Linked DNA regions of Homo sapiens: region 1 is linked to region 2. The links are contacts of gene promoters, found by promoter capture Hi-C in blood cells and fetal thymus (Javierre and others, 2016). All regions are on one chromosome and are shown on one strand. Each heading gives the region's core, a stretch centred on a gene start or on the middle of the fragment in contact. The rest is flanking DNA. Distances are from core to core; before and after follow the strand shown. Region 1 has its middle 22 kb from the start of RIBC2. Region 2 holds the start of NUP50 (nucleoporin 50).

The links. The method cuts DNA at HindIII sites, captures the fragments that hold promoters and counts their contacts. A CHiCAGO score of 5 or more calls a contact.
Region 1: a contact is called between a fragment that was not itself captured here and the fragment with the promoter of NUP50 in region 2, in 7 of 17 cell types (neutrophils, naive B cells, naive CD4 T cells and 4 more). The highest score is 14.3, in neutrophils.

Annotation. Positions count from the first base shown.
Region 1 is chr22:45,433,992-45,438,253 of GRCh38, reverse strand. No RefSeq gene overlaps it. Among named protein-coding and RNA genes, the nearest start is that of RIBC2, 22 kb to the right of the region's middle. The HindIII fragment of the contact is 4,374 bases long and covers 285-4,262 here.
Region 2 is chr22:45,161,994-45,166,339 of GRCh38, reverse strand. It overlaps NUP50 (nucleoporin 50), which reads right to left and starts at 2,415. Exons shown (of 8, transcript NM_007172.4): 1 at 2,044-2,415. It overlaps NUP50-DT (NUP50 divergent transcript), which reads left to right and starts at 2,559. Exons shown (of 3, transcript NR_038956.1): 1 at 2,559-2,763. RefSeq lists silencers at 1,644-1,823, 1,854-2,083, 2,854-2,903 and an enhancer at 1,964-2,486. The HindIII fragment of the contact is 17,324 bases long and covers 1-4,346 here.

The DNA.
Region 1 (4,262 bases), core at 1,222-3,721, 270 kb before region 2:
ACCAGCCTGGCCAACACAGTGAAACCCAACTCTACTAAAAATACAAAAATTAGACGGGCGTGGTGGTGCACGCCTGTAGTCCCAGCTACTTGGGAGGCTGAGGCAGGAGAATCGCTTGAACCTGGGAGGCGGAGGTTTCAGTGAGCCAAGACGGTGCCACTGCGCTCCAGGCTAGGCAACAGAGGGAGACTCCTCAAAAAAAAAAAAAAGTCATATGATTGGACTCATACAGTAGATAACCTTTGCAGATTGACTTCTTTCACCAAGCAATATGCATTTAAGCTTCTTCCACATTTTCTTGTGGCTTGATAGCTCTTTTCTTATTATTATATCTTATATTAATAAGACTCCATTGTCTGGAGGTACCACAGTGTTTTTATCCATTAACTTATTGAAGAACACGTTGCTTGCTTCCCGGTTTTGGCAATTATGAATACAGCTCCTGTAGACACCCATGTGCCAGACACAAGTGTGGACATACGTCATTTGGGCAAATACAAATGGCTTTTGAACGCTATTATTATAATTTTTCTGTGCTGTTTTGTTTTAGATGTGCCTTTTGTAAGTGGCGTATATATAACTAGAATTTTTAAAAGCCAGTCTGTGGAGAGCTAGTGTGTCCAGAACTGGTGGGTTCTTGGACTTCAAGAATGAAGCCGGGAACCCTCGCGGTGAGTGTTACAGCTCTTAAGGTGGCGCGTCTGGAGTTTGTTCCTTCTGATGTTCGGATGTGTTCGGAGTTTCTTCCTTCTGGTGGGTTTGTGGTCTCGCTTGCTCAGGAGTGAAGCTGCAGATCTTCGCGGTGAAGCAGTGTGGACCCAGAGAGTGAGCAGTAGCAAGATTTATTGCAAAGAGCAAAAGAACAAAGCTCCCACAGAGTGGAAGGGAACCCGAGCGGGTTACCACTGCTGGCTTGGGCAGCCTGCTTTTATTCTCTTATCTGGCCCCACCCACATCCTGCTGATTGGTAGAGCCCAGTGGCCTGTTTTGACAGGGCGCTGATTGGTGCGTTTACAATCCCTGAGCTAGATACAAAGGTTCTCCACGTCCCCATCAGACTCAGGAGCCCAGCTGGCTTCATCCAGTGGATTCCGCACCGGGGCTGCAGGTGGAGCTGCCTGCTAGTCCCGCGCCGTGCGCTCGCACTCCTCAGCCCTTGGGCGGTCGATGGGACTGGGCGCCGTGGAGCACGGGGCGGCGCTCGTCGGGGAGGCTTGGGCCGCACAGGAGCTCATGGAGGGGGTGGGAGGCTCAGGCATGGCGGGCTGCAGGTCCCGAGCCCTGCCCCGCGGGAAGGCAGCTAAGGCCCGCTGAGAAATGGAGCGCAGCGCCAGTGGGCCGGCACTGCTGGGGGACCCAGTACACCCTCCGCAGCCACTGGCCCGGGTGCTAAGCTCCTCACTGCGCGGGGCCGGCAGGGCTGGCCGGCTGCTCCGAGTGCGCGGCCCGCCAAGCCCACGCCCACCCGGAACTCCAGCTGGCCCGCAAGGGCCGCGCGCAGCCCGGGTTCCCGCTCGCGCCTCTCCCTCCACACCTCCCTGCAAGCTGAGGGAGCCGGCTCTGGCCTTGGCCAGCCCAGAAAGGGGCTCCCACAGTGCAGCGGTGGGCTGAAGGGCTCCTCAAGTGTCACCAAAGTGGGAGCCCAGGCAGAGGAGGTGCCGAGAGCAAGCGAGGGCTCTGAGGACTGCCAGCACGCTGTCACCTCTCACTAGGACACAAATATAGCAAAATATTAATTGTAGAATCTAGGTGGTGGATGTATGTGTACATTCTGTACAATTCCTTCAGTTTTTCTTTATGCTTGAAATAAAATGTAGCAGGGAGGGCTGGGTGCAGAGGCTCAGGCCCGTAATCGCAGCACTTTGGGAGGCCAAGGTGGACGGATCACTTGAGGTCAGGAGTCCGAGACCAGCCTGGCCAACATGGAGAAACCCTGTGTCTACTAAAAATACAAAAATTAGCCAGGCGTGGTAGTGCACTCCTGTAATCCCAGCTACTCGGGAGGCTGAGGCAGGAGACTCGCTTGAACCCAGGAGGCAGAGGTTGCAGTAAGTCAAGATTGTGCCACGCCAGCTTGGGCGACAAAGTGAGACCCCCCTCTCAAAAAAAAAATTAGGGGGGAAATGTAACAAAAACCCTTTGGATTTATGAAATCACAATGGGCCTTTCAGGGGAGAGTAACCCCCCATGTCTGGCCTCGGCTCTGCCTTCCACCCAGGGGCAACACACGGAACGTCTTTCATCCTGTGGACGGGAATCACAACATCCAGCAGTGTCGGGGCTGTTGCAAGAAACTGCCCAGCACAGGACCTGGGCCTTCGCAGTTTAATCACCTCGTTCCTCTTCCTGCCTGGAGAACGGCAGGGACTGTGTTGTGCTGCTGGTCACCAGCAGAGGGCGCACAGAAAGCAAGTCTGCGTCCAAAGTTCTCACGCCTGCCCTTCCTTCCTTCAGGAGTATTTTTTACAAAGTTGCAGCCTTCAGAGTTAAAGCAAGCCTCTCCACGTTGGGGCGTGATTCCAGGCATATAAACGAAGTGGTGATGGCTGCGGCGGCCTCCTAGCGCTGTCTCCCTTTTCTCCTCTGCCTTCTTCCCAAGGATTTCCCTCCCTGTCCCTGTCTCCCATTAGACGTGGCGATCCTGGCCCAGGGCCTAGCCTGATCCAGGACAGGAAGAGTGCTCAGTGCTCATTGAATGAACCGACATTATTTCCCATTTCTCCCTTTATCTCCCCACTTGAAAGCAGGAGGGTGAATGACAGTATTGGCTGTCACTCGCCCATCACTGGGGCCCTCCCAGAGCCTGGCTTGTTCAGCCTGGACACAAATGTTCCTAATGGAGTTATCCTGGGAGGCAACGGAACCAGGTGCTCTCCTGCCTTTCCCCTTGTTGTGGGTTGAATTGGGTCCTCCCACAAAAGATATGTTGGAGTCCCAATCCCAGGTACCTCAGAATAGAACCTTATTTGGAAATAGGTTAATTGTAAATGAAATTAGTTAATATGAGGTCATTAGGTTAGGCTCTAACCCGGCGTGGCTGGTGTCCTTATGAAAAGGGGAAATTTGGACACATACACGCACACAGGGAAGACCACAGGAAGAGGAAGGCACAGATCAGAGTGATGCATGTACAAGCCAAGGAACACCAGAGATCACCAGCAAACTACCAGGAGCTGGGGCAGAGGCCCGGAACAGATCCTTCTTCGCAGCCTCAGAGGGAAGCAACACAGCCTACACCTCAATTTGGACTTCTGGCCTCCAGCACCTCGAGGAACTCTAAGTTTCTCCTGGTTAAGCCACTCAGTCTGCAGGCATTTGTTAATGGCAGCCTGGGAAATGAGTACACCCCGAACCCCTTTCCCTACAGGGAGTGTCCGTGTTACCGTTAGTCACTGTGAAAATACGCAGCTCCAGTTCAGGAAACAAGGGGTGAGCAGCTGGCTGAGAGTTTTGAAGCCCTGGGATCCGCATGGTGGCCCTGCCTGGTGCAGTGAGAACAGTGAGGTCCTTCATTTTGTGGATGCAAAACGAGGCTAAGCAGCTGCTTTCCAGCGGTGCGATGGGGGCAGTTTAAAGAGACCACCTGCCCAAGAGGCCCAGTGGGAGCCTGGTACACAGGGCGTGCTAACAAACCGACTCTCGCCCTCCCCTCTCTGGCTTTACATCACAATCCACACTCTAGTTACAGGTCCTGAGGCAGTCCCCTGGGTCCCACCCGTGGTCCCACACCAGCCTGGGGGTGGCAGCATTACTTGATCGACTGTGAATTTGAACAACGTCTTCAGTGTGGTCATTTGTTCAAATGCTTTGCCTGGGAGCCCGTGTGGGCCTGGATCCAGAGGGAGGCATAAAGTCTGTCTGCAAAGCCTTGCCTCCCTTTTGGCAGCCCCTGGGTGGCCTGAGCCTGCTGGGCTGCTAGAGCACACCCAGCCCTCTCTGCCTGGCCGACAACTCTCTCCAAGCTCCCCTTTTGCCTTCAGGATAAAGTCTGCAGCCTTCCTCGTCGGCCCGCCTGCTCCTCACACCTTGGCCACACACCTCTTCCTTCCACCCCCACCCCACACCAGACCCCAGGCCCTCTACACACCCACCTCAGCGGATACTGCCCTGCCACTTCTCTCCTGGACACCGCAGTGCCTTTGTTTATGCCTGCTAGCAAGTCCAGCCCCACTCTGTCCACCTAAAAACCCTACCGATCCTGAGGCTCAGGTGAAACGTCAGCCAGTGAAGGGTCTGAGCATGGGAAGAACCAGAGGGGCATT
Region 2 (4,346 bases), core at 1,166-3,665:
CTCCAGCCTATGTGACAGAGCAAGACTCCATCTCAAAAAAAAAAAAAAAAAAAAAAGAAAAAGAAAAAAAAATTAGCTGTGGAGAAAAAAGGGATGGAGCTGAATACACAAAAACTGTAATAGTAAAATTGTAACTTCTAACTCATACCCACAATGAAGAGACAGGTGACGCAGTAAAATAGTCTAAATAAATGTAGGGGCTTCCACGTCCTAACATACTCACCAAATCAGTATATAACCAAAACGCAGGGATCTTTGTTTTGTTTACAGATATACTCCAAATGCCCCAACAGTGCCCAGCTCAAACAGCAGGTGTCCTGTCTGTCATTAGATCAGTGAGCTGGGGAAGTATTTCCCCAGTGAGCATAAAGTATTTCAAAAAATACTAAAAGATGCTGGCATCCCAGTTTTGCCATTTTCTAGCTGTGAGAACTTGGGCAAGTTATATTTAATTTTTGTGCCTCAGTTTCTTCATCTGTGGAACAGGAAGTATTAAGAAAGTTAAGATAAACAAAGACTGGCTTAGAACAGTGCCTGGAGCAGAGGAAGGGCTTAATAAATTATTAAAGAAACAAGTTTTATTAGAAGCAAAGGCTATAAACTATCATTTTCCCTCCAAAACGTAAAAGTTGTAGCATGGAAGAAGAATAACTTGGATTACAAACCAGATTTTTACAAATATTTTACCAAATCCCTATTTTATTTCAAAGCATGACACTTCAGACAATACATTTTACTTTTATGCTAGAAGTGGGGGGGAGAAAAAACCCTCTGTAAAATATTCAGAACAAGGCCTGGCACCTGGAGTCTTATGTCTAGCTACTGTTATGAAGAACTTAAGGGAGGCGGAAGGATCTCTTGAAGCCAGGAGTTGGAAACCAACTTGGTCTCTACGAAAATAAAGATGGACATAGATTAGATGAATAGAAATAAAAAATTAGCCGAGCGTAGTGGCGCACGCCTGTGGTCCCAGCTACTTGGAAAGCTGAGGCAGGAGAATCACTTGAGCCCAGGAGCTTCAGGCTACACAGTGAGCTACCACTACACTGAGGCCTGGTGACAAAGCAAGACCCAGTCTCAATCAAACAATCAATAAAAGGGAATTTAAAAAACGTTTGCGTTTGTGGGTAAAAAACCAAATTAGACATGATTTCTAGGTATGAAGCAACGTGGTGGGAGACTGAAAGTCTAGGTAAACTGGAAAAAAACATTATTTGTGCCTGATATAGTTATGTGGTCTCTGGCATCTGGTGTAGCTCTGCCCTTGGAAAGCTCAACTTGTCAACATCACCTTAAAACGAAAACACAGATTTGGCTACACTTAATAGTGAAGTGCCTTGTTGGAGGAAAACAACAAGGGGGCCAAGTAAGGAGACAGAAATACCTAATCTCCAAGCTGGTTCTTAATGGAACCGAGCAAATGGGTGATGAATAACCCGGGAACGCAGTAAGACAGGCCAGAGAGGTAATGCGCCCAAGAGAAGAGAGACGAGGGGCGGCCAGGGGGAGAGGAAGCTCGAGAGGAATCGCTAGGAAGGAAACGGAGAAGACCACGCCAGGACAGCCCTGCCAGCCCCCTACCTCCGGCGGGGCCGCAGGGGAGAGTCTCACTCGAGTCGGACGCCGCAGCCCGGTGGGGCCCGGGCCCCGCTTCAAAAACAGCCGGGGCTGCGTCGCCGCTGTCATCCCACCCCACCCTCCACCCGTCGCTCCCCCACCGCGCGCCCCGCCCGGCCCGTGCGCCCGACCCAGGCTCCCTCCCTAGAGTCCCGACCTCTAGCCCTGTACCCCACTTCCCAGGGTCCCGTCCTCCAGCCCCTTAAGCCCCTCCCCAGGGTCTGGTCCCCCGGCCCCGCACCCCTCCCCAGGGGCCCGTCCCCCGGCGCTGAACCCGCACCTCCCTCCCCAGGGTCCAGTCCCCAGCCCTGCACTCGCACTCCCCTCCCAGGCCCGAGCCCGCTCCCGCCCTCCCGGCCCTGGGCTCTCAGCACCAGGCTCCCGCCCTCAGCCTCTTCTCCTCCCGCGCCCGCCGCCGCTCCTCACCTCCTCGGCGGCCGCCGCTGCACTCGCTGGGTCTTGGTTGCGGCGAAACCCGGGGCGCAGCGGCGCAGGGGTCTGGAGCCCGCAGGGGTCGCCGGGCTGAGCGCGCTCGGCCGCTTCCGGTGCTGCGCTGCGGAACTCAGAGGACTTAGTGCTCGGCAAGCCCAGAGACTCAAACACCATATCCCTGGGGGGGCTCCTCACGCTGTGTTCGGCAGGGAGGCGAGAGCGCCGGTTCAGCCAGAGACAGCTGGGGGAACCGCGCCGAACACGCTCCGGGCGGCCATTTTGTAACTCGAATCTACCCCCAAAACCAATTCGAAAAAAAGGGAGGAAAGAAACGCCCGCGTTCAGCTACTGCGCAAGCGCGCCGGCGCTTCCGGCAGTAGCACCTCCTTCCGCCGGCCGGGCCCCTTACGCGGCGCATGCGCCCAGCTCCCTGGAAACCGGCGCGGGGCTGAGAATGCCGGTCTCGCGCAAGCGCGCACGCGCCGACCTTGATCTCGTAGCCGGCGCCAGCAGCCGCGCTTTGGGGCGTCGGCTCACGTGGGGCCGGCAACGCGTCTTCCAGGATGTTCGCGCGCTAGTCGCCGCTGAGGGGCCGGCGATGCGCGAGGAGTTCCGGCGAGGAAGGTCGGTCAGTGGACATGGCCGAGGCCCGCGGTGTCCGCGTGTGGGAGCTGCAGGGCTGAGGAGAGGCCGCCCGCAACCCTCGGGAATCGTGTGAGGTGCCACTGGGGTCGCTTCACATCAGGAGGCCCCGTCTCGGGGGACGCGCGCAGGTGACCCTGCTGGTCGTACCTGGCCGGGGTGGCCCGGAGGGGCTGGGTCTCGGCGCCAGGAGGGGCCGTGTGGGCCGCCTGTTAAAGGACCCCTCGTTCGCTGACATTTGATTTTGCATTGGGTGCCTTCTCTTCTGTTTTTTTCAGCCAGTGAGATCCGTCCTGGGCACTCAGCTGTAGAGCAGGGGAACGAGTCCTGCGCTTTTTGCGCTGAGGTCTCCTGGCCCGTAGGCCAGGCAGCCTCTGAGCTCCTTTCTCACCAGCAGCTTGCGATCCCTCATCCCTGGCCCTGTCACTCCCAGCTGTTTCCAGTGCCGCCCTTTTTTTTTTTTTTTTTTTGAGATGGAGAGTTTAACTTGTTCGCCCAGGCTGGAGTGAAGTGGCACGATCTTGGCCTACTGCAACCTCTGCCTCCCGGATTCAAGCGATTCTCCTGCCTCAGCCTCCCGAGTAGTTGGGATTACAGTCGTGCGCCACCACGCCCGGCTAATGTTTATATTTTTAGTAGAGACGGGTTTTCACCATATTGGTCAGGCTGGTCTCGAACTCGTGACCTCAGGTGATTCCCTCCCCCCGCCCCACCACCTCAGCCTCCCAAAGTGCTGGGATTACAGGCCTGAGCCACCGTTCCCGGCCTCGAGCGCCTTCTTATAAACTGGATGGTGGTTTTTGTTTTCACCTTCAAAGTCGAATCTCCCTAGTCCGTTTATTACCAGAAAGAGGTCTCCACTCAGACCCAGCGAGAGGCTTCTTGGATGTCGCGTAGGAAAGAATTCGGGGCGAGTCCACGGACTAAAGTGAAAGCAAGTGTATTAGAGAAGTGAGAAAGCAAAAGAATGGCAGAGCAGGGCATTCCTGAAAGCGGGAGGAGGAAGGCGCCCGCCTTAGGTACAGTGCTTGTTCAAATCTAAGGTAACACAGCCAAAGAAATCTTGGGGGACATGGGCTCTACCACGAGGGCCCACGACCAAGGTTTCATGCGCGTCCGTGTGAAGAGACCACCAAACAGGATTTGTGTGAGCAACATGGCTGTTTATTTCACCTGGGTGCAGGCGGGCTGAGTCCAAAAAGACAGTCAGCGAAGGGAGATAGGGGTGGGGCCGTTTTATAGGATTTGGGAAGGTAATGGAAAATTACAGTCAAAGGGGGTTGTTCTCTGGTGGGCAGGGGTGGGGGGTCACAAGGTGCTCAGTGGGGGAGCTTCTGAGCCAGGAGAAGGAAATTCACAGGGTTAATCACTTAGTTAAGGTTGGGCAGGAACAAATCACGATGGTGGAATGTCATCAGTTAAGGTGGGGCAGGGCCTTTTCACTTCTTTTGTGATTCTTCAGTTACTTCAGGCCATCTGGGCGTATACGTACAAGTCACAGGGGATGCGATGGCTTGGCTTGGGCTCAGAGGCCTGACACAAGGATTGTTCATCTTTGTTTACTGACTTTGGCAAAGATCTATATTATCTTTAAAGCGAAACCTAAATGAAGAATGCTTTTGATCTTAAGATATTGTTAGGTTTTGAAGGGAAGA